3 separate regions of the Homo sapiens genome follow, and all the other regions are linked to region 1. Evidence: promoter capture Hi-C in 16 types of primary human blood cells and fetal thymus (Javierre and others, 2016). All regions are on one chromosome and are shown on one strand. Each heading gives the region's core, a stretch centred on a gene start or on the middle of the fragment in contact. The rest is flanking DNA. Distances are from core to core; before and after follow the strand shown. Region 1 holds the start of TM7SF3 (transmembrane 7 superfamily member 3). Region 2 overlaps INTS13 (integrator complex subunit 13). Region 3 has its middle 44 kb from the start of C12orf71.

What was found. The method cuts DNA at HindIII sites, captures the fragments that hold promoters and counts their contacts. A CHiCAGO score of 5 or more calls a contact.
Region 2: a fragment that was not itself captured here is called in contact with the fragment with the promoter of TM7SF3 in region 1 in 5 of 17 cell types (neutrophils, M2 macrophages, monocytes and 2 more); the score reaches 9.8 in neutrophils.
Region 3: a contact is called between a fragment that was not itself captured here and the fragment with the promoter of TM7SF3 in region 1, in 2 of 17 cell types (M2 macrophages and total B cells). The highest score is 6.5, in M2 macrophages.

Annotation. Positions count from the first base shown.
Region 1 is chr12:27,012,633-27,017,027 of GRCh38, reverse strand. TM7SF3 (transmembrane 7 superfamily member 3) reads left to right here and starts at 2,644. Exons shown (of 12, transcript NM_016551.3): 1 at 2,644-2,950. The coding sequence starts at 2,860. RefSeq lists a silencer at 2,452-2,951. The HindIII fragment of the contact is 5,016 bases long and covers 1-3,635 here.
Region 2 is chr12:26,910,071-26,914,495 of GRCh38, reverse strand. It overlaps INTS13 (integrator complex subunit 13), which reads left to right. Exons shown (of 17, transcript NM_018164.3): 12 at 1-88; 13 at 368-522; 14 at 809-1,039; 15 at 3,179-3,318. Among named protein-coding and RNA genes, the nearest start is that of INTS13, 26 kb to the left of the region's middle. The HindIII fragment of the contact is 9,163 bases long and covers 1-4,425 here.
Region 3 is chr12:27,123,970-27,128,891 of GRCh38, reverse strand. It overlaps the pseudogene LOC124902904. Among named protein-coding and RNA genes, the nearest start is that of C12orf71, 44 kb to the right of the region's middle. The HindIII fragment of the contact is 2,783 bases long and covers 2,184-4,922 here.

The DNA of each region.
Region 1 (4,395 bases), core at 1,395-3,894:
TGAAACCCCATCTCTACTAAAAAAAAATACAAAAATTAGCCGGGCATGGTGGTGTGTGCCTGTAATCCCAGCTACTTGGGAGGCGGAGGCAGGAGAATTGCTTGAACCCGGGAGGCAGAGGTTGCAGTGAGCCAAGATTGCACCACTGCACTCTAGCCTGGGGGACAGAACAAGACTCCATTTAAAAAAACAAACAAACAACAAAAGTATCCATTCCTCTGAGTCAATAAAAGATGTATGTTAAAAAAAAAAAAAAGCCACGTACTATATATACTTATTGCATCATAACTTGCCTTTTCATAAAGACTTCAATCAGAATATAAATGAAGGGCTGCACAGGATCCTCTTATAAAGCTCTATCATAGGTTATTTAACTCCTAATTGTTGGGCATTTAGGTTGTTTTAGATGTTTCTGCTACTCTAAATAATACTCTATGAATAGTTCTGTACACTATTTTTTTTTAAGAGATGGGGTCTCACTATGTTGCCCAGGCTGGAGGGCAGTGGCTATTCACAGGTGCAATCATACAGCACTGCCCTCTTGAACTCCTGGGCTCAAGTAATCCTCCTGCCTCAGCCCCCTGAGTATCTGGGACTACAGGCGCATACCACTTCCCCCAGCTTATACTAATTTTTATATGTGTATTTAATTATGTACTTAAATCTAAAAGTGGATTATACCAAATCTACAAAAATAAGATTTTTAAACATTTTTGATGCCGATTACTTTATTAAAGTGTATATTCCCAGTATCCCTACCTAAGAATGCCTCCTTCTTAGCTCTTTTATCCACACTGGATGTTTTATACTTTTAAAATGTTTACATCTTAGTTTGTTAATTTGATTTTTTTATTTGTTTACTAGTGAGATTGAACTTTTTTCATGTATTTACTGGTAATTTGTATTTCTTTTTTGGGGTGAAATTCCCCATTCATGTCCTTTGCTAATTTTTTTTTTTTGGTCAACTTGCCTTTTCATATTGTTTGTGTGTTTACTTTAATAAAATTTAAATATTTATGTAAAAAGCATTTACGTAGCCAAGTCTACCAATCTTTTCCTTTATGGTTGTTTCCTTTGCTGTTTTGCTTCTTAGAAAGCTCCTCCCATTTTGAGATCAATTTATTAAAAAAAAAAAAGAGCGCCCTCTTCTGCTAGCTCTTTTATGGTTTTATTACTTTGGGATTTTGTTTTCACAATTAGTGTGAGATAGAGTTCTGCTTCTCTCTGCCCATAGTGCAGCTAATCAGTTAAGAACACAATTTATTGAATAATCCATCCACTGATTCAGATGCTACCCTTATCATAATTGTCCCTTTCATCTTCCTTGGATTTCATCTACTGAGGGTTATAGGAATAGGGGCATGTGGGAGAGTGAATAAGCACTACAGAAATAGATAGTGCTACCAAAGGTGTGAAAATTTGGACCAGGCAGTGGGAAAGCAGAGAAAGAATTGTGCCTATGACAAAGATTATTTGCTTGGCCAAACTCTAGTACGGCTTCTGAATCTTCTGCTAGGTCCATCTGTGCACTTCTTTGTAAAAATCCAGTTTTAGCAAAGAACCCCCTTTCCTCCATATCTAATCAGTTTTCTCACCCTGCACCATCCCCCAGGTGATGTTATGTCTTCAGAAGTCCTGTTAGGTCAGTTTCACCAAATGCCCCTTACCTCTGATGCTTCCTCTTAGTAATTTTCCATCCACTGAACTCCATACTGCTGGTTGGCTATAAATTCCCTCTTGCCCACGCTGTATTCGGAGTTGAGCCCAGTCCCTCTTCCCCACTGCAAGACCCAGTTGCAGTGGTCCCTATGCCAATTGAGACAGTCCTCAATAGTCTTCGTTCGGTGCTTTAACAAGTATCATTGAATAATTTTGTCTTTAACACTTCTTCACATTATGGTCACAGCTATATATTGTTAGCTTAGTAGTGGACTAACTGAACATGTAATTTCCAAGCTATAAGTTGCTCATCAAAATATATAAGTGAAAAAAATTAAAACCAGGGAAGGAAAGCAAGACAATCCTCCCCAAATAACGTTAAGTCTATGCGTCTAATTCCACATCATCGATGAGCCATCTGTCACATGGACTACTGTCCCTCAAACAGCACTCAGGTATGAGACTTGAGACGAAGTTCAGACCAAGGCCGTGTCTTCGAGGATATTTCGCTTAGAGAAAACGAAACTACTTTTAAATGTAGTGCTTATGACTAGTGCGGTAACCACTACACAAACAGCATTCTCCTGGCATTTTTATGCTAACATAAGCCTCAGCAGCGAAGACAATTGCTACCGGGGGAAATAACCTTCAATTGTGTTTTTAGCAACTGATTCCTCTTTTTTGCTGTTGTAAAGGGCCGTTAAACACGGAAACAGGAGCCTGGCGACGTTAGTCCGCAACAGAAAGTTATTTTGTACTTTCACAGTGGGTTTGCCTACTTGGTGAGATAAAAGTGGGGCAAGACCGGGCCTCAAGCCAGGACTTCCTGGGGGCTCCCGGGAGCACCGCAGGCTGCGCGTTCCCCGCGCGCCGGCAGGAGGCGCGCGCTGCCTGGAAACGCCCCAGCGCCGCCCGCGCCCAGAGACCCGCCGCTGTGACGCAGCGAGAGCCCGGGAGGAGGCGCGGGAACGCGCGTTGGGGGTCAGGTGCCGGAAGAGGAAACCTCTCGCTGGGGCTAGGAGTTCGGCGGGGCGCGCGCCGGCGGCTGCGGAGCTGGCAGGTGCGAAGCGTCTGCACCTGGCGGGCGATGGCGCCCGATGCGGGCGCCCCGGGATAGCGTGGGCGAGGCTGCGGGGCCCCGGCGCGCACGCCCGCACCTCTCCCCAGCCCTGGCGTGGGCCCAGCCCGGCCCAGGCAGCAATGGGGTTCCTGCAGCTGCTGGTCGTAGCGGTGCTGGCATCCGAACACCGGGTGGCTGGTGCAGCCGAGGTCTTCGGGAATTCCAGCGAGGGTAAGGTCGGGGCGCCTGGCTTCTGCAACCCAAAGTTGCTTTTGCATTTCTTGCGAGGTCAAAATCCGCCAGGGGTCTGTCAGCCTAGCAGGGAGATGGTGCTGGGGGCGTTGGTACACGCTGGGTGGTGAGTCCAGAACCGGCACGAATGGTGTTTCCTGCAGCGGAAACACTCATGGCTAAGGAGGTCTTACTATTAACCTCCTCATTTAGCGGAGGAAATGGGAAGAGATAAATAATTCTCTTTTTTTAACACAGTATTATCTCCCTTAGGGAGCAGCCATGTTTGTGGCTTTAATTCAACTTACTAAAGCGCCTCTTTGCTGCCCAGTGGACTGTCTGAGCTTCTGGACAGCAAGACTTGGGGTGGAACTAGCGGCTTAATGACTGATGGCTCTCAAGCTGCATGGAATTTTTACACCCCCAAATCTAGAGGCTTTTCAAACTGGTTATGTTCTACAGAGTTTGAGAGGGAAAATGAACCCATAATGAGGCTTTATTTTTAAAGAGCCTTTACCATCTAATTTATTAATACCATCTGGAGACAGGAAAACATTCCATACTCACAATGAGAAATAAAGGACTTTCTGAATTACAGATACATAGACATACAGATAGAATGTGTATACCCTCAATTCTACAAGTTCAGCCACAAATGAAAAATAAACACAGAAACACAAAAGCTTGCCAGTCCAGGTATCAGAGTTGTTCTCCTTACTTGAGGGCAAGAAATTTCTAATCGATTTGACCTTAAAAAAGACAAATGGACAAAAACTGTGTTCTCTGTTGTCTCATATCCAACAGGAAATAGATCTCTATGAGATATTAATTCGTTTACAGAGATCACAAAATTCCCAATCATTGCAGCTACCAACAGGAAATAACTTGTCATCCATAAATGAACTGTAAAAAATAACAATTTAATAGAGAGTAAAACTAAAATGAGAAAAACAAGAATCAACGAAGTTCTATTGCCACTTCAAATTCACCTGTGGGAGCCAAGAAGCAACATGCCCGGGCTTGGCTCCCTATGAGTACACCATTTTTGATGATTTCAGGTGACTTTTTTTTTTTTTTTTTTTGACGGAGTCTCGCTCTGTCGCCTAGGCTGGAGTGCAGTGGCATGATCTTGGCTGACTGCAACCTCCGACACCCGGGTTCAAGCAATTCTCCTGCCTCAGCCTCCAGAGTAGCTGGGATTACAGGCGCCCGCCACCACACCCAGCTAGTTTTTGTATTTTTAGTACAGGCGGGGTTTCACCATGTTGTTCAGGCTGGTCTCGAACTCCTGACCTCGTGATCTGCCCGCCTTGGCCTCCCAGAGTGCTGGGATTACAGGCATGAGCCACCGCGCCCGGCCGATTTCAGGTAATTCTTGTTCATCTCAGTGAGAACTCAGAATGGGATGTTAGATTGTAAGTCTTGTGCTTGGTGAATGGGTTTGG
Region 2 (4,425 bases), core at 1,057-3,556, 100 kb after region 1:
TTTGGAACGAGCAAAAGATCAGTTAGAAAAACATACCCGTTACTGGCCTATGATCATTTCACAAACCACCATTTTTAACATGCAAGCGGTAAGTGTTAAGTAGCTTCAACTTTTCTTATAGATTAGTTATATATTCTTTATAGAAATCAATTAGACAATTTGTAATTTATACCATTTCTTAAGCAAAGAATGAAATATATGAGCTTGCTAAAGTTAAAGAATTAATAATTAAAAATTGAAGTGATAGTTATAGATTCCTTCACCATGATAATCTTTAAAATCCTTTCGAAAATCAAGTTCTGCCTAGATGTTTTGATATTTATTTTTCAAGACAGATTTTCTTTTTTCTTTAAAAAAAATCTAACAGGTAGTTCCATTAGCCAGTGTTATTGTGAAAGAATCTCTGACAGAAGAAGATGTGTTAAACTGTCAAAAAACAATATACAACTTAGTTGATATGGAAAGAAAAAATGATCCTCTACCTATTTCCACAGTTGGTACAAGAGGAAAGGGCCCTAAAAGGTACATTTTTTTTTCTTTCTTACTTTATAGATCACATTTACTTGATACATATTGTTTCTCAAGATAACTTATTCCATATGTAAATTCTATTTGAGGACATGTTTATATATATATTTGAGATGAAATAATACAAAATCATAGAAATGGATATATTGTAGCCTAGAATTTCACTATTAAGTACCAAGTAAGAGGAAGGAAGTCCACATTTCATTATTTGTTTTTACTTTACCACTAGAAAGTGACACTTCAATATTATTTAAAGAGTATTTCCAAATCTTTGCTGCAGAGATGAACAATACCGTATCATGTGGAATGAATTAGAAACCCTTGTCAGAGCCCATATCAACAACTCAGAGAAACATCAAAGAGTCTTGGAATGTCTGATGGCATGCAGGAGCAAACCCCCAGAAGAGGAAGAACGAAAGAAACGAGGAAGAAAGAGGGAAGACAAAGAGGACAAGTCAGAGAAAGCAGTGAAAGATTATGAACAGGAAAAGTCTTGGCAAGACTCAGAGAGGTGACTTCCTGGCATTGATATAGCACCATGGTGCCTTTTGTTATATCACATTCTGCATAGAACACTTTCATACATTCAAACCTGATTTAATAGTAGTTCATTTAATACATGTTTATTCATTTTCATTACTGTAATTTTATCATTCTTAAAATCTAGAGGATCTTTCTTGGGCACAAAAAAGTATGAATTTTTACTGTTGGGGCAAAGTTAGTGTTAGTTTTTCCTAATTAACTTCTGAAAATCATAATGCATGATGTTTGGTATCAGTATGTGCTTTATGTGTTGTGAACTTCACAGACATAATTTTATTCCTCTGTTCACTAAATATTTACTGAATGCTTATGATGTGCCAGGCATTTGGCACAAGATCCCTACCCTTGAAGAACATACAGTGTGATGCTAGAGACAGACAAATTAGTGATTGCAGGCTGGGTGCAGTGGTTCACACCTGTAATCCCAGCACTTTGGGAGGCCGAGGCGGGTGGATCACTTGAGGTCAGGAGTTTGAGACCAGCCTGGCCAACATGGCAAAATCCTGTCTCTACTTAAAAAAATACAAAAATCAGCTGGGTATGGGGGTGCATGCCTGTAATCTCAGCTACTCAAGGGGCTGAGGCACGAGAATCACGTGAACCTGGGAGGCAGAGGTTGCTGTGAGCCGAGATTCCTCCACTGCACTCCAGCCTGGGCAATAGAGTAAGACTTTGTCTCAAAAAAAAAAAAAAGTGATTGCAGCAAAGTGTGGAAGGTGCTATTATAAAAATAGGCATAGGATGTCCTTGGAAGCACAGAAGAAGGGCATACAGTCTATTCTGAAAATGTTTCTTAATAGTATACTCTTTTCCTTTAGTTTGTGATTTATATTATGATGTCAGCGTTAAATCTGAAAAACATAAAAGTAATAAAGGCTTATAAATAGAAATAGCGTATCCTCTGGCTATATCCTCTATCCACTTGCCAGAAATCAGACCAACACCAGGTCACTTTTTTTAAAATTAATTAATTTTTATTTATTTTTTTGAGACAGAGTCTCGCTCTATCACCCAGGCTGGAATGCAGTGGCATGATCTCGACTCACTGCAGCCTCTGCCTCCTGGGTTCAAGTGATTCTCATGCCTTAGCCTCTCAGGTAGCTGGGATTATAGGTATGTGCCACCATGCCTGGCCAATTTTTTGTATTTGTAGTAGAGATGGAGTTTCACCATGTTGCCCAGGCTGGTCTCGATCTCCTGACCTCAGGCGATCTGCCCATCTTGGTCTCCCAAAGTGCTTGGGATTACAGGCATGAGCCACTGCGACTGACGAAAAACACATCTTTTTATGATGGAAAATTTCAAACATATGTAGCAAAAGAACAGATAGTTACTCATCATCTACCTTCAATGATTAACAATTCATGGCAGATCTCATTTCATATATATCTTCATCCACTACCTTTACCACTACACCCATAGGAATATTTTGAAGCTAATTCTGGAAATCCTGTAATTGTATCCATTAATAATAGAATACTTTTATTCTCTTTGACTTTAGAAGCTCATGTTTTCCTTAGGGCTGCTGAGCTTCTGAAACACTACTGGCTCACTGTAAGAGGGAAAAAGTACTATCATTTAGGTCCCACTGAGCTTCAAGTACACTCTTGTATATTTTGCAAGTGTTTTTGTTCTCTGATGAAACTCTAAAAGTTTAGAGTTAAGTTTCTGATTTGCAGAACATAAATACATCTACACAATACATAGACTAGAGAATAAATGGGAATAAACTTATTAATCTTATTTGTAATTTGAAATTCAGTGTTATTTTGTTCCTATCTTTAAAAATCAGAATTGTGCAATTTCTTCTGAAGATCACATCATTTCCTACCTTTTAAATTTTAATTTAAGTATCTTCTTTTTTTTTATATTTTACAGCTAATTCCTGAATCATTGCATTATTATTATGAAGGAAAAGGGAAACTTGTATTTAATTCATTAATTTCTGTTACCTGGTTTTAGATTGAGATTTTTGATTAGTCCCTAGGTTTATTTTATGAGATTAGCCATCTTTTATAAAGGTTGATATGCAAAGTTAGTTTAATTATTAGACCATTAGACTTCTAAAAATTTGAACTTTACATTTCATTATTTGTCCCTCTAAAAGATTAAAAGGAATCTTAGAGCGTGGAAAAGAAGAATTGGCTGAAGCTGAGATTATAAAAGATTCGCCTGATTCCCCAGAACCTCCAAACAAAAAACCCCTTGTTGAAATGGATGAAACTCCACAAGTGGAAAAATCAAAAGGTAAGGTACAGCTGTGGTAACTAGGTTTATAAAAAGTTTTCCAGGCCGGGTGTGGTGGCTTACCCCTGTAATCCCAGCACTTTGGGAGGCTGAGGCAAGCAGATCACCTGAGGTCAGGAATTCAAGACCAGCCTGGCCAGCATGGTGAAACCCCACCTCTAATAAAAATACAAAATTAGGCGGGCATGGTGACACACACCTGTAATCCCAGCTACTTGGGAGGCTGAGGCTAGAGAGTCGCTTGCACCTGGGAGGCGGAGGTTGCAGTGAGCCAAGATCGCACCATTGCACTTCAGCCTGGGCGACAGAGCAAGACTCTGTTTCAGAAAAAAAAAAAATTTTCCAATGAAGCTCTGTTTTGTACAGTGTTATTTAATATTGTTGTGTATGTGAGGAAGAGTTCTTAAGTATTTGTGGGTGTTGTTTAGGACATTCTCTGTTTACAACCTGTATTAGTCCAGTCTTATGCTGCTAATAAAGATAAAAATACCCAAGACTGGGTAATTTTTAAAGGAAAGAGGTTTAATTGACTCACAGTTCCAGCATGGCTGGGAGGCCTCAGGAAACTTACAGGCATGGCAGAAGGAGAAGCAAACATGTCCTTCTTCACATGGCAGCAGCCAGGGGAAGGGCAGAGCAAAGGGAGAGGAAGCCCCTTATAAAACTATCAGATCTAGTGAGAACTCACTCACTATCACGAGAACAGCATGGAAATTTGGGTGGGGACACAGCCAAACCGTATCACAGCCTTAGAGAATACAGGCAGTAAATATATTTGTCAGTGTTAAAAACAAAAACAAGTAGTGTTATACTTTCATTAATGAAGCCTTTGGAAAATAAGCATATAAAGTTTGTGTTTTAAGAAATTTTAAATATGTAAACTTGAATCTGTTTATGTTCCTGATACTATAGTAAGAGCTGAGATATTGAATACAAACTCTTTTGACCCTAAACTCTTACGAAACCTAGAAATATGTAATATCACTCATTTATTGCTATATTAAAATGTGTTTGAGTTTCAGTGTAGTTATTATTATAAACAATATTTTCACTGTAAAGCCTCTTAATCTCTTATAGGCTAAAAAGTTTAGTTTCCTCTTGAAGGAA
Region 3 (4,922 bases), core at 2,326-4,825, 110 kb before region 1:
GTGGTGGAATGAGGGCATGAGCTTCGCAGTGGGCAAGCGGGGAGTACATGTTTAGACTATAATATTACCCTAGTCATAGGTACACACCTAAGTCCCCTGAATTTGGGGAGGACAGAGAAAAAAGAAGGTCCCAGTGTCCCTAGAAGCGAAGCCCCAGCTCCTATCCCAGTACAGCAGCAACTTCATTCACTCAATATCTTCATTCACTCATTTATTCAACATTTGTTGAAAGCCAGCAATGTGTGACAGGATACAAAGATCTAGAGAAGGAATCTGTCTTCTACTTTGGGAAGGATAACATGAGACCAAGAAAAAGTCCCTATTGTTCTTGTCACTTTTTCTTTCTTAACTCACTTTCCTAAAGGAACAGGGAAACCTCTTTCCATTCAATCCTAACAAATACCAGTGGCCTAGGATTCCATGAAAAGCTCATCTTTTACCTCTGTAAACTAAGAATTCTGCCGATTTGGTCAATTTGTTTTTCTGTGTCTGTGAATATTTTCCATGGGAGTTTACTTGAAGACTAAGGGGAAAACTGCCTTAATTTTAGCTAGGATGTCTCAGTGAGGCACTGCATAATTCAAGATAATTGTGATCACATACTGGATACAATCTTAAGATGTACCTGGTTTGCCAAGGCCTGAGAAAATATTTCCTGGAGGCACAGATGAAAAGCAAAGCTGGTCAGAAAGCAGCAGGGATCGGAGGGTGGTAGGACGGGGACTGCTTCATGGGACTGGGAGTCGGGGACGCAGGGAGAACAGCCAGCACCCCTGCAGAGAGCATGTCCCGTGGCTGAACTCTTTTAAGTTATGAGTATTTTTATTTTTATGGTAACTTTTAAAAATATACATTTGGGATTAATATTATCTAACTTTTAATGTAAAAATAAGAGAGAAGTATATTATGATGATTTAACAGGTCAGAAGCCAGTCCAGAACATCTCATTTCCCCTGTTTACACTCTATCTATCTCATAGGTGATGATGCCTGCTTTGGCGTTACTACCATTAGTATTCACCATTAGTATTTCACTCACTTTTTTGAAAATTGTATTCTTGTAATTTCTGCTGACTTTGAGATGGCCTCATAATTAAAACTGCCAAATAGTCAGACACTTTCGGGATTTCACTACCTGATCCCCTGCTGACATGGATCAAGGTCATGATCCTCAGTTAAAAAAAATTATAAGAATGTTCTAGGGCAACTCATCAAGTTAGACCTAAAGTAAATAACTACTTGCTTAACTCAAACAATTAGACATATTTTTACATTTGCCTTCTTACATCTAGAGCTTCATAAAGCAAATAATTCTCCATTTTTAATATCTGTGTTCACACATTATAATATCTCACAATCAAAACAGAAAATTCAGCCTCAGTAATTAAACAAATATGTCATAGTCTACAGTTTTTTTTAACCACAGGAGACACACTTCTGAATTTTAAAAGAAATTTGTTCATTTCCAGAAGCCTAGAGCTACACTAATAAATTCATTCTTATAGATTTAATGTCCCTTCACTGTAACAGGCTACTAGTGTTGGTATTTTATCTCATTCAGTGTCTGATCATATGAAACAAACAGGCAGGAGCAATTAGTAGTAAAGAAATAACCTGCATCCTAGAAGAAACCAGGGGATCTCCCCGGCCCAGGCAAAATGATAATTTGAACTGCAAATGCCCAGTTGCACTAATGAAAAGGTTAGTATCCATCTTAAAGTACAGGGCCTCTCAAGTTGGCCATCATTAAACATGAATGGAACCATAATTATATATCTGTTATTATTAACAGATACATAATTATTTCCAAAAATTTTTGAATTTAAGTTTTTCTAAAATATTCCAGAAGCTTCTCTTCAGTCTGAGAAACGTTTGCACTCTTTTGTCACAAGAAGTGAACTATGTATGGGTAGTTTGTAACTTTATTCCCCTTGTAACTGGACCTAATTCTCTTTCCCTCATTGCAAAGGGATGCTGTTAAACATTTTCCCTCTATTCTCTACACTCTACTCTTCAGTATTACCTCTCTGACTAGCCTTTTTTCCAGGTGTATTCATAAGCCCTCAGCATACATTAGTTCATAGGATCCTTACAATACTAAGTGGCAGTAACAATCATCCCCATTTTACAGATGAGAAAACCAAGACACAGAGCTTCAGACATTTTCACAAGGTCATACAAGCTTTGAAGAGTTAGGGCCAACGTTAAAATTCAGGTCTGCTGTCACTACAGCCTGCATTTGAAACTGCATAGATATAATCCTGCCTTATCATTCACTGCTTTCTTTTTTAAAACATCATAATCTCTTTTATTTGGGCAGTTTTCCCATGTTCAATATGAAGGGGGAATTTGCTAGGATTCTGTGTTCCTTAAATTCTAAGACGCCATCAACTTTAATTTTTTATTGTGGTAAAATATATATGTAAAATTAACCATCTTAACCATTTTAAAGTGTATAGTTCAGTGGTAGTAAGCACATTTACATTGTTTTGCAGCCATCACCATCGTCCATGTAAATAACTCTTTTCATCTTGCAAAACTGAAATTCTATGCACAATAAGTATTATCTTCCCATTCCCTGCTCCCCTCAGCTCCTGGCAGCTACCAATCTATTTTCTGTCTCTAAAATTTGACTATTCTAAGTATCTTATTAATAAAAAAAGGAAAGAAGGGAGAGAGGAAGGGAGGATGGATCTGAGCTAAAATGTATACACATCCCCATTTTAAGATCATAAAACACAGCCCAACTTCTGAAATATTAAATTGGAAAAATCTAATATTATCAGCAAATCACTAAATTATAAGCATATAATCTTCTACTTGTTGGATTCCCAATGCTGGCCCAAATTCCTTTTTGGTTCTAAAATAAAGTCTATCGTGGTAGGTGTGTGGTGACAACTCAATTTCACACCTATGCTTTTATGGTTCCAAACAGCCAGTCCTGCTCTTTTTGCCTTTTGCTGTTTTTCTTCTTTCATCCTGTCATTCTCTGTGTGCTTGAGAAAACACACTTAATTTGGAAGGTTGGGGTCAAGGTGAGGAATTCATATAGATAAGTTAGATAGATATAAATAAATTTAGCAACAGCAACAAAAGTCCCTTATCTCTCTGGATCTACATCTAGTTTATTTTGTTATTGTTACTTTTAGGATAAAAACCGAATCTTCATTAGTTCTGTAAAATATCTGTCATTTTGTGGATTCTCAAAGTTAAAATGTCAAATAGTAAGAGAGAAAGCAACTGAAAACACAGATCAACAAGCCATTACCCATCCAAGGAATAAATTTAAAACAACTTCCATTCATTCAAACATGCAATCCACTTTATCATTCATGGAGCATCATTCATTACAAATATAACTACTGAGCCAGGCATTCTTCTAAACACCAGGGATACAGTAAATTTTTAAAAATAATGGCAAAAATTGGATTCATGATGCTTACATTCCAGTTGAAAAGACAGAAAATAAATGATATAAACATTACAAATACATTGCACATAAGAAAGTGGTGAATGCTAAGAACAAAATAAAGCAGGGAGATGTAAGACAAAGAATAAATGGGTATAATTTTAGTTAGGGTGGTGATACAAGGCCTAACTGAGATCACAACTTTTGAGTAAATACCAGAAGAATGTGAGGGAGCTAGCCATGCAAATATCTAGGGACAGAGCTTTCCAGGCAGAGTGAAAAGCCAGTGCCTGGAAAAGCCAGTGCAAAGGCTCTGAGGCCAGTGTACCTGGCATGTTTAAGAATCAGTGAAAAAGCCACTGTGCTTGGCGTGGAGCGAATAAGGAGATGTGTGACAAGAGATGAAGTCAGAAAGTCATGGGGAGCAAATCCTACGAGGCCTTGCAGCCCACAGTAAGCACTGTGGTTTTTACTCTGAGTAAGATGTGATGCCATTGGTAGTTTCTGAAAAAAGGAGTGAGTGTCATGATCTAACTTATATTCAGATGTAACCATCATTACTTTTTATCATTTCTGAAAATACTTTCACAGAACAGATTAAGCACATGTTAATGGACATGTTTTAGACACATGTCAAAAGCTGAACTACAGGTACGCTTCGGCTACTATTGCCATTGGTGGCCTCTGGGTGTGGGATAGAAATACGTTCTTCTAACAATAGTAAATTCCTTTTTCACTGCATGCTAAATGGTCAGAAGAACATGGAGTAAAGAAGGGGTGAGATAGGACATTGAAATAGACTAAGGAATATGTCAGGAAACACCAAGTACAGAGCATGAAGCAATCCCTAAAGAAATCAGCAAACCTGGACCCTTAAGTCTCTGGAGGAGAAATCTGTAGAGCAAATAGAAAGTATAATAGTAAGGCATTATGTGTTTTAACAAGTAAAATAACTCCAGTTTGTATAGCTGCACCCCCACTAAAGGATAGATTGTACTATTCGCTCTCAGAAACGCAGAGGTAAACCAGGTGGGAACACAGAGTATTCAGCACAGGACTGGCTGGGAGCTCTAATATTTGTGTCACATCATATGAAAATGTTTTAGCTGTAGGATGTACTCTTAAGGTTCCCAAAGCAAGCAGTTTTCATGTCTACCACAGATCCAAAAGTAGATCACAATTCTTTCATACGATTCTCATTAGTTTTGATATAAACACAGTTAACTCATAAGCATATGAGTGCATCTTACTGAAAATTGAATATCCTTTAGGCACAAAATATCTCCTTTCCTCTGTCCTCCACTGAATCTGTTTTTGTGACACTATTTAGATTTTATGTGTCCATCACAGATTAAAAGCATGGTATTTACCACTGTATCGAGACAAAGGGTAGCTCTGCCACATCATCAATTTTTGAGAAGGATGCCTAGAAAGAGGCCTCGTTGTTTAGTGAGTAACACCATTAACCCATTTATGCTGGAGGTTGCTAATTTTTTTGTGAAAAATCAGAACTG